Regions from separate parts of the Homo sapiens genome. Here region 1 is linked to region 2. Evidence: promoter capture Hi-C in 16 types of primary human blood cells and fetal thymus (Javierre and others, 2016). All regions are on one chromosome and are shown on one strand. Each heading gives the region's core, a stretch centred on a gene start or on the middle of the fragment in contact. The rest is flanking DNA. Distances are from core to core; before and after follow the strand shown.

What was found. Contacts are between HindIII fragments. The CHiCAGO score rates a contact against its expected background, and 5 or more counts as called.
Region 1: a fragment that was not itself captured here is called in contact with the fragment with the promoter of MBLAC1 in region 2 in 1 of 17 cell types (total CD8 T cells); the score reaches 5.8 in total CD8 T cells.

Annotation. Positions count from the first base shown.
Region 1 is chr7:100,367,902-100,373,342 of GRCh38, reverse strand. It overlaps a transcript of PILRA not described here. Among named protein-coding and RNA genes, the nearest start is that of PILRA, 2.9 kb to the left of the region's middle. RefSeq lists an enhancer at 2,188-2,939. The HindIII fragment of the contact is 2,485 bases long and covers 2,057-4,541 here.
Region 2 is chr7:100,125,561-100,131,045 of GRCh38, reverse strand. MBLAC1 (metallo-beta-lactamase domain containing 1) reads right to left here and starts at 4,079. Exons shown (of 2, transcript NM_203397.3): 1 at 3,982-4,079; 2 at 2,551-3,678. The coding sequence starts at 3,650. The coding sequence ends at 2,850. It also overlaps a transcript of TAF6 not described here. RefSeq lists silencers at 3,170-3,649, 3,740-3,859 and enhancers at 4,060-4,129, 4,840-5,485. The HindIII fragment of the contact is 8,479 bases long and covers 1-5,485 here.

The DNA.
Region 1 (5,441 bases), core at 2,050-4,549, 240 kb before region 2:
CCTGACCTTGGCTGGCTGGGCCCCTCCCACCTGGATCCCTGCAGACCCCACCTCACTCAGCCTCACTTCTCATCCTTCTCTCTGCCCAGGGCCAGCGCAGGCTCTTTCAGGGAGAGGAAAGGCAGGCCTGAATCTCTGTCCTTCTGCGCCCCAGATTCAGTCCTCAGAGAGGAGGAGAAGGAAGCCGGTGGAGGTCACAGGTGCTCAGCCCCCAGCCCAAGCAGAAGAGCCCCCAGCTTGTCCTCTGTCCCTCTCCCTCCCTGGCAGGGGCTCCCATGCAGTCCCCAGGCACCACCACGACCCAGCTGGCCTCTTCCTGCCCCAGGCCCTCTCTCGGTGCAGGCACCACGACCTTGCTCAAGGGGTGAGGGGGCTAATGGTCCCCTACACAGAGACTGGTCCTTCTGGAAGCCACCCCTTGACCCCCAAGACATGAGACTGGGTCTGCAGGCTCCCCTCTGACGTCCCGCCCTACACAGGAGGGGACAGGGCTCTGAGAAGCCCTGCCCCAGGCCACGTGACTTGCAGTAGTGGGTACAGGACTGGAGCCCCCTCAACCCAGATGTCTGGGCCTGGCTGAAGGGTGGAATCTCTGGGCCTCAACTTCTGAGTGCAGGACAGGAGGCTGTCCCTTCATACAGCCCCTCAGGTCATTCCCTCCACACACCTGAGCCCTTGGCTGATCCAGAAGCTTCCTTGGACACAGAAGAAAGTGAAGGCTCAGAGCAACACCCACCCCACACACAGTCCTGGGCCCATCTCTAACGGGGATCTGCCGGCCTTTGCCCGGGGGTGGTCACTGGAGCAGGGAGCTTTGGTGGTGCACAGGGCTCCCTCCGTAGGAGGCTCTGCCCACCCTCTCCAGGGTGAGGTGGCATCAGTTGAGGGGCCGTGGGGGAAGACAGGATTTCATCAGAGGAAGTGACATCAGCCTTCTTGAGACAGAAGCAGGCAGGGACGGGCCTCCCTTCTCTTAGTCTCTTCCCTGGTCCTAGTAGGCTCCTCTGTGCTTCCCAGGGCCAGCCAGGCCGGCCCGCCCTCCCTCCCTTTACAGGCCTGAGGAAACAGGTTCCCCATGCTCAGGAAACCCCTCCGTCTGAGCCAGGCCCTAAACACCTCATTCTCTGCTTCACAACATTCTGAGGTGACACATTATCTCCATTCAACCCACAGGGAAACTGAGGGACGGGGGCTTTGGGCTGAACTGGTCACAGCTGGAAAGATGGGCTGCAGAGAGGACAAGGGACCCCCTGGCTGTCTGGGCAGGGCCTCGAGAGGGTGGCCCGCCCCACCTGAGGACCTGGCTGAAAGGTCACCTGCTTACCAGGCTGTCCAATGTGGGGGCCACATAGAACTTATAGCCAACAGCCTCTGGGTAGCTCTGGAGGGCACATGCTGCCCAATGCTGCCACGTGCAGTCTCCTTAGATGCAACATGCATGTTTATGTCACTTTCAGGCCCTGGATCCAGCTGAACCCCCATGGGAGATTCCTTCTGTGTCAGGATTTCTGCTCTGGGATGGTGTGAGGTCTCCTGGATTTGTTCATCCTCCCTCCCCCAACAGCAGTGACAGAACCTGGGACTGAGCCTGGGGCTGTGGCTCTCTCACAGACAGGGCTTCTGAGAGGAGGAGGAGGGCCTGGAGGAGGGCATGATTCCAATGTGGGCAGAGCCTAAATGCAGCCCCTTAGTGCAGGTGCTCATGGGAGAGGCGTGGGAAGTCGTGTGTGGGGAGCAGGGGCAGGGAGGGGGTAAGTACCCTGCACCGCATTATGAGAACCACTGCTTGGATGTCCCCACATTCCCCCAACAAGTATCCTACTGTCCTCACTGGCCACATCCGTCCCTGCCCCCAGCCCCTCACCTCTCCTTGGCACCCACCGTTCCTGCTTTCCTCTGATCCCAATCGACATCCCATAGGCTTTGTGGAGTTCACAAGCCAACTGTAATATTCTCACAGTAATTCAAAGGACCTAGAATAGCCAAAAGGCCTTTACAAATGAAGAATGAAGGTGGAAGATTTATAATACCTGACTTCAAGACTTGCTGTAAAGCTTCTGTAATCAGGCTGTACTGTCCTCAAGGTACTAGAGTGTCCACAGACTGGAGTGTAGGGACGCGATCACCATCACTCCTGGGCTGAAGCAATTTGCTGACCTCAGCCTCCCAAGTAGTGAAGACCACAGGCACACACCACCACACACGGCTAATTTTTTTTTTTTTTTGAGAGATGGGGTCTCACTATGTTGTCTAGGCTGGTCTCAAGTTCCTGGGCTTAAGCAATCCTCCTGCCTCGGCCTCCCTCAGTGCTGGGATGACAGGTGTGAGCCACCTCACCAAGCCCCACTGGATTGCTGATATTCTGGCATCTTGGACCTCCAAGAGCAGAGAGAGGGACTGCCCCTGCCAGAGCCAGCCAGTTGTTAGAGCTAGCAAATGACCCCTCTGAGAGTGTCCCTTTTTTTTTCTGAAACAGTCTCACTCTGCTGCCAGGCTGGAGTGCAGTGGCACGGTCTCGGCTCACTGCAACCTCCACCCCTGGGTTCAAGCGATTCTCCTGCCTCAGCCTCCCAAGTTGCTGGGATTACAAGTGCGTGCCACCATGCCCAACTAATTTTTGTATTTTTAATAGAGACGGGGTTTCACCACGTTGGCCAAGATGGTCTCCATCTCCTGACCTTGTGATCTGCCCACCTCGGCCTCCCAAAGTGCTGGGATTACAGGCTTGAGCCACGGCTCCTGGCTGAGTGTGCCTTTCATATGCAAACCAGCTAATCCAGGGCCCCAACACTGAACCAGCTCTTCTAGCTGCCTCTCACCCTTCAGAAGGCAGTATTTCTCTGCCTTCATCATCCTGGGCCAGACACCAAATAACAAATGACAGCCTCTAATCCCCAGAGCCTGCTAACGTTATTCTAACTAGCCAATCCTAAACCTGCATACCCTTCCTTGCCTTTTCCAGGGAAAGCATAACAAAGGGTCTCACCCCTGTGTTCCCTTGGCTTCCTCTACTCCCTGAGGGACCCTGGTGCTTTCCCAAGTGGCCCTGCATGGCTGTGTCTCTCGTTTCTGGGGATCTGTGAGGATACACTGCTTCCCTTATGACCCTCATTTCCATGGCCATACCTGATGGAAAGAAATGGCAGGTGCATTTTGTTTTATTATTATTATTATTTTGAGACGGAGTCTCACTCTGTCGCCCAGGCTGCAGTGCAGTGGCACCATCTCGGCTCACTGCAACCTCTGCCTCCCAGGTTCAAGCGATTCTCCTGCCTCAGCCTCCCGAGTAACTGGGACTACAGGTGCCCACCACTATGCTCACCTAATTTTTGTAGTTTTAGCAGAGATGGGGTTTCACCATGTTGGCCAGGCTGGTCTTGAACTCCTTACCTCAGGTGATCCACCTGCCTAGGCCTCCCAAAGTTGCTGAGATTACAGGCATGAACCACCGCGCCCTGCCAGCAGGTGCATTTGATTTATTTTTATTTTTTGAGACGGAGTCTCGCTCTGTCACCCAGGCTGGAGTGCAATGGTACAATCTCGGCTCACTGCAACTTCCACTTCCTGAGTTCAAGTGATTCTCCTGCCTCAGCCTCCTGAGTAGCTGGGATTACAGGCACGTGCCACCATGCCCGCCCGGCTACTTTTTGTATTTTTAGTAGAGATGGAGCTTTGCTATGTTGTTCAGGCTGGTCTCGACCTCCTGACCTTGTGATCTGCCTGCCTCAGCCTCCCAAAGTGCTGGGATTACAGGTGTGAGACACTGTGCCTGGCCCAGCAGGCGCATTTTAAAAGAGCTTTTAACTCTCTGGACAATCCCAGGAGGTAGGCAGCATCTCTGTATGGTCCTCAATTTATACAGAAAGAAACGGAGGCCCTGAGGGTGGTTCTGAGCCTAGCCTGAGGTCACATGGCCCAGGAACGTCCACTGTGGCATCAGGTCTGAGCTTGGGGCCTGTGCGGCCAACCACTTCCCCATTCAGTGACATCAGCCAGCAGTCCTCTGGGCCTCTGTGACAACCATGCTTCCCTTTTCTGTGTTGTCTTCCTTCTGCACAGGGAGGTGCTTGAGGGCTGGGGCACTGGCTGGTGTAGCTTTGGGTCCTTGTCACCCAGTGCAGTGTGCCTGTCACCCAGGGCAGTTAGTGCTGACCAAATGCGTATGGAGAGGGTGGAGGCATCTTCAAGGGGTGGGGATCAGGTGACGATCATTTTCAGTAGAGATGGGGTTTCACCGTATTGGCCAGGTTTTTTGTTTTGTCTTTTTTTTTTGAGACAGGCTCTCTCTCTGTCACCCAGGCTGGAGTACAGTGGTGCAATCACAACTCACTGCAGCCTCAGTTGCCACCTGAGGGCTCAATTGATTCTCCCACCTCAGCCTCAAAATGTGCTGGGATTACAGTCATGAGCCACTGTGCCTGGCCCAATCATGCCTTTATAATGAAGCCCATAAAAACCCAAAAGGGATGCAGAGGGCTTCTGGATAACTGAACTCATGGAGCTTCCTAGAGGGTGCAGTGCCTAGAGAAGACACGGAAGCTTTGCACCCCTTCCCCCAGGCCTCCCTCTGTGTATCTCTTATATCTGGCTGTTCATAACTATCCTTTGTAATATCCTATATCTTTATTTTGAGACGGGGTCTCGCTATGTTGCCCAGGTTGGTCTCAAACTCCTGTGCTCAAGTGAACCTCCCCCCTCAACCTCCTGAAGCACAGAGATTACAGGCATGAGCCATGGCGCCAGGCCCTATAATATCCTTTATAAGGGGACACATGTAAGTAAAGGGCTTCCCTGAGTTCTAGGTACCATTCTAGAAAATTAATTGAACCCAAGGAGGGGATCATGGGAACCTCAATTTTTATAGCCCTGTGTCAGAAGCACAGGCACCACGTGAGCTTGCGACTGGCATCTGATGCTGGGGCAGCCTTGTGGAACTGAGCCCTCAACCCGTGCGATCACAGGAAGCAGCCAATTTGCTGTAGTAGCCGTGGCCAACACACTGTCTCTGACAGTGTTCTTGCCCCTGCCCACTCCTTCTTAACGATTCCCTCTCAGCCAGGCATGGTGGCTCACGCCTGTAATTGCAGCTATTTGGGAGACTGAGGCTGGAGGATTGCTTGAGCCCAGGAGTTTGAGACCAGCCTGGACAACTTGGTGAAACTCCAGTACCACTAAAAAATACAAACATTAGCTGAGTGTGGGGGTGCACGCCTGTAATCCCAACTACTTGGGAGGCTGAGGCATGAGAATGGCTTGAACCCAGGAGGCAGAGGTTGCAGTGAGCAGAGATTGCGCCACTGCACTCCAGCCTGGGTGATGAGAGTGAGGCTCTGTCTCAAAAAAAAAAAAAAAAAAAAAAAAAGATTTCCCTTCTTAAACTTGCTTCCAACTGCTTTAAATCTGTGAGTGCCATCTGTTTCTAGTGGGGAGGCTCCCTGCAT
Region 2 (5,485 bases), core at 2,830-5,329:
TCTCTTACCGGATGCCGGTCCCTGGAGGCTCCAAGCAGCTTTTCGTCCGGGAAATTTCCAGTGGCACTCAGTCCTCAACCTGAGAACTTAGCACTAGGAAACTCTGGTCTTTCCAGTCTAATGCGTATGCTCTCTTTGGTTAGAAAAGAAAAACCACGTGTCCCTTTTGCATTGGTCGATTGGAAATCAATCTATTATTCATTGCAGGAGCCGCCTCAGAATGCCATGAAGAGGTAAAGTCCACCTCTGTAGCGAGATTGCCTGGGTTGGAATCTCTGCTCTGCCAGTTACTCTTTGCCAATAACTTTCAGGGTCTTGACCTGTTGCCCATGCTGGAGTGCAGTGATGCAATCATGGCTTCACTGCAGCCTCCAACTCCTGGGCTCAAGTGATCCTTCTGCCTCAGCCTCCCAAGTAGCTGGGGCTGCAGGTGGGCTCCACCAAGCCCAACTAATTTTTTTTTTCTTTTTTTAGAGTTGGGGTTTTGCTATGTTGCCCAGGCTGGCCTCAAACTCCTGGGCTCAAGCAATCCTCCCACCTCAGCTTCCCAAAGCTCTGGGATTACAGGTGTGAGCCACCTCACCCAGCCACTAATTACTATTTATGTCATCTCTGTTGACTTAAGGTCAAGTCACTTAACCACTCAGCACTTCAGTATTTTCTTATTTGTGAAAAGGAATAATAGGCCAGGTGTGGCAGCTCAACATCTGTAATCCTAGCACTTTGGGAGGCTGAGGCAGCTGGATCACCTGAGGTCAGGAGTTCAACCAGCCTGGCCAACATGGCAAAACCCCATCTCCGCTTAAAAAAAAAAATACAAAAAGCCAGGCGCAGTGACTCACGCCTGTAATCCCAGCACTTTGGGAGGCTGAGGTGGGTGGATCGCCTGAGGTCAGGAGTTCGAGACCAGCCTGGCCAACATGGTGAAACCCTGTCTCTACTAAAAATAGAAAATTTAGCTAGATGTGGTGGTGTGCGCCTGTAGTCCCAGCTACTCGGGTGGCTGAGGCACAAGAATCGCTTGAACCCAGGAGGCGGAGGTTGCAGTGAGCTGAGACTGTGCCACTGTATTCCAGCCTGGGCAACAAGAGTGAAACTCCGTCTCAGAAAAAAAAAAAAAATGTAGCTGGGCACGGTGGCAGGCACCTGTAATCCCAGCTACTCGGAAGGCTGAGGCAGAGAAGTGCTTGAACCCAGGAGGCGGAGGTTGCATTGACCGAGATCGAGCCACTGCACTCCTCCAACCTGGGCAACAGAGTGAGACTCTGTGGAAAGAAAGAAAGAGACAGAGAGAGAGAGAGAAAGGAAAGAAAGAAAGAAAGATAATAATAGTACTTAGCTCAGAGCTGCGATGAGGAACAAATAAGTTAATGGATGGGGCTGGGCACGGTGGCTCACGCCTGTAACCCCAGCAGTTTGGGAGGCTGAAGGCTGAAGTGGAAGGATCACTTAAGCCCAGGAGTTCCAGGTCACAGTGAGTTTTGATTGCACCACTACACTCCAGCCTGGGTTACAGAGCAAGACTCAGTCAATAATAATAATAATAATAATGTACAGAAAGTGCTTAGAGCAAGTAGAACTGGTCTGCTCTGTGAGCTCTTAGGATCTCACTTCAGGCATCTGTTGCTGTTTCACCCCGCCCTACTCTGTGCCAGAGGTTGTCCAAGGTGCTGGAGGTCCCAAGCATAGGAGAGCCAGGCAGGTGTGGCCCCATCCCATGCCCATGGGAGCAATCCGGCTGCTGAAAGAAAACAGATATTAAATCATCACACTTGGGGAAGGGCACAGTGGCTCATGCCTGTAATCCCAGCAAAAAAAAATGCAGAGGGCCTGAGAAGGTAGGATCTTTTTAGGTCAGGAGTTCAAGACCAGCCTGGGCAACACAGTGAGACCATTTCTGAAAAAAAATGAAAAAAAAAAATTAGCTGATAGCCAGGCATGGTGGTTCATACCTGTAACCTCAGCACTTTGGGAGGCTGAGATGGGCAGATCACTTGAGGCCAGGAGTTTGAGACCAGTGTGGCCAACATGGTAAGACCCTTTCTCTACTAAAAATATAAAAATTAGCTGGACATGGTAGTGTGAGCCTGTAATCCCAGCTGCTGGGAAGGCTGAGGCACAAGAACCAATTGAACCCAGGAGGCAGAGGTTGCAGTGCAGTCTGCAGTACAAGATTGTGCTATTGCATTGCAGCCTGTGGGGACAGAGTGAAACCGTGTTTCAAAAAAAAAAAAAAATTAGTGGGGCATAGTGGCACTTGCCTGTCATCCCAGCTACTTGGGAGGCTGAGGCAGGTGGATGGCTTAAGCTGGAGGCTGCAGTGAGCTATGACTGCACAACTGCACTCTAGCCTGTGTGACAAAAAAATATGAACAAATACATAAGTCAGGTGACTAAGGGGTCATCTTTATGCCCTGTACCTTCTCTCAGCAACCTCCATCCTATAAGAAAGGGGCAATTGGCCAAAGTATGCCTCTGCTGTAGTTGTAGATTACCATGTTTGCACGATTATCATTGTCAATGCTTCACATTTACACTAGGGCACTATGATTTTCAATGCAGTTTCCATTTTTATTTTGGAGGCCCCTCCCACGAACCTTCTCCCATTTTACTGAGGCCCAGGGAGAATGCACAGGGAGCTGAGCCCCTCCTTTGATCTTAGTTTGGTGGCAGAGACAGGCAGTGATACTGACGATGTGATGGCAGTGTCAGGTGCACTCTGTCTTCACTAGAAAACTGGCCTCCTGGAAGGGCTGGAAGCTCCCACCCTTGACTGCTCTGACTCTGTCTCCAGCAGCTCTTCGCTGTTAGGGCTTCCCTGACAAGAGTGCAGTCCCTCTCGAGGCTGATTAGTGCAGGGCGGGCTCCTCGTCTCCGACCACCGGCTCCTGCTGGCTGTTCCCTCCACCCTCCGTCTCGGGCTGCGAGGCTTCCCTTAACACTCGAAAGGGGGGCCCGTGACCAGGTACGACCACGTCGGCAACGACCAGGACCCTCTTCCGGCTCCGCTCCTGGGCTGCGGGGTCTTCACTCAGTGCCTGCCACGAATCCTCGTCCCCATCTCGCTCAAACACATCTCCCGCCACCACCACGGTGCCCAGAGCCGTGCCGGCCACCACCACGCTCACGTCGCGCTGGCCCCCGTGGCCCGGCGTGGCCCACACCTCGAGCCCCGGGCCCAGGCGCAGGGGCTGCCCCTCACCCAGCCCGTGGGGCAGGTAGCGGCCTCCGGGAAGGCAGAAGTCGTGCGAGACCAGCAGAGCCGCGCCTGGGAACAGCCCCAAGTTCCCGATGTGATCCGAGTGCCCGTGGGTCCCCACCACTAGCGTCACGTCTCCCGGGGCCACGCCCTGCCCCGCCAGCGCCCCCAGCAGCGCCTCCCGAGCCCAGGGGCCCCCGGTGTCCACCAGGATGGGGCCACGGGCCGCCTCCTCCAGGGCGGCCTCTGCGCCGCCACTCCCGCGCGGGGACTCTCGGTGGCTGGAGGCCGGGCCCCGGGTCTGGGGTAGGACCAGGGTCACGGAGCCGTCGGCGCGCACGGCATCGCCCACACCCTCTGGCTCCGCGTAGCCCTGCAGCAGAACCACCACAGAGTAGGGGTCGCCGGGCACCAGCAGAGGGGATGCCCCGCACAGCGGCTCGGTCCGCATGAGGCTGCTCCTGGCAGGGAGGGACGGGCTGGGGAGAAAGGAAATGGAGCAGTGGGCGACCGTCCTGTCCCTCCGCGATCCCCCACCCGCGCTCGGCCCCGCCACTGCCCCTAAGCCTCGGTTCTCTGCCACCCGCCTCCCATTAAGTTGGTATCACCCTCAACCCCTGCCCAAAATGGTATCGCCCAGACTCCCTTCACACTTGGGCCCGCCCCTCCCTCGGCGTCCTCGGCCCCCGCCCCATTCCGTTCGCGGTACGTACGTCCTTGCCCGTCACCCTCCAAAGGCTATCCTTTATGTTTCCCTCCATCGAATCCTAGCCGCGCTCTACCTTGGGCCTCTGCTAGGTCTTGCCTCACTCGAAGAAAGCGCAGAAATCGAAAACGCGGGTGAGAGTTTGTCCTCTGCGGTTCCCGTGTACCCAGATATGGCGGCCGAAGCGGCGCCGCGGAGGTAGCTGTAGTTCCGGCGCCTTCACCGTGTGCCCGAGGAGGCTGCCTGGCTGGGCTCCAGCCTCCTGGCGGTTCTCCGCTCCGCAACCCCAGCAACTTCTTTGCACTGCAGAATTTTGAAGCGCCATTAGCTTTGAGGAGGGTTCATGCTCAGTTGCCCAGGCAGGAGTGCAGTGGCGCGATCATACCTCACTGCAGCCTCAACCTCCTGGGCTCATGTGATCCTCCCGCCTCAGCGTCCCGAGTATCTGGGACCACAGATGCGCACCACCAAGCCCAGCTAAGGTTTCTATTTTTTCTTTCTCTTTTTTTTTGGAGACACGGTCTAGTTCTGTTGCCAGGACTGGTCTGGAACTCCTGGGCTCCAGCGATCCTCCAGTCTTGGTCTCCTGAAGTGCTAGGATTACAGGTGTGAGCCACCGCGCCTGGTCTTTTTTTCTTTTGAGACAGTCTCGCCCTGTCGCCCAGGCTAGAGTGCAGGGGCACCATCATAGCTCGCCCCAGTCTTGAACCCCTGGTTCTAGCGATCCTCCTGCTTCAGCCTCCTGGAGTGCTGGGAATACAGGCGTGCACGCCCCTCTAAATTTTTTTTGGTTTTTTTTGAGACGGAGTCTTGTTCTGTCGCCCAGGCTAGAGTGCAGTGGCGTGATCTCAGCTCACTGCAACCTCCGCCTCCTGGGTTCAAGCGATTCTCCTGTCTCAGCCTCCCGAGTAACTGGGATTACAGGCGCCCACCACCATGCGTGGCTTTTTTTTTTGAGACGGAGTCTCGCTCTATCACCCAGGCTGGAGTGCAGTGGCACGATCTTGGCTCACTGCCAGCTCCGCCTCCCGGGTTCCCGCCATTCTTCTGCCTCAGCCTCCCGAGTAGCTGGGACTGCAGGCGCCTGCCACCACACCCGGCTAATTTTTTGTATTTTTAGTAGAGACGGGCTTTCACCGTATTAGCCAGGATGGTCTCGATCTCCTAATCTTGTTATCCACCCGCCTTGGCCTCCCAAAGTGCTGGGATTACAGGCGTGAGTCACCGCGCCCAGCCGCCCGGCTAATTTTTGTATTTTTGGTAGAGACGAGGTTTCTCCATGTTGGCCAGGCTGCTCTCGAACTCCTACACTCAGGTGATCCGCCTGCCTCGGCCTCCCAAAGTGCTAGGATTACAGGTGTGAGTCACTGCGCCCAGCCTCCAGGCTGGTCTTGACCTTTTGGACTCAAGTGATCCTCCCATCTCCACCTCTGCAGTAACTGGGACTACAGGCGCTGCACCACCAGCCCTGCAGTCTTCTTTGTGTGTGTGTGTGTGTGTAGAATTGGGGTTTCACTATGTTGCTCAGGCTGGAGCTTGAGCTTAACAAGACAGCGGCCATTCTGGGTGCTGCCTCATCG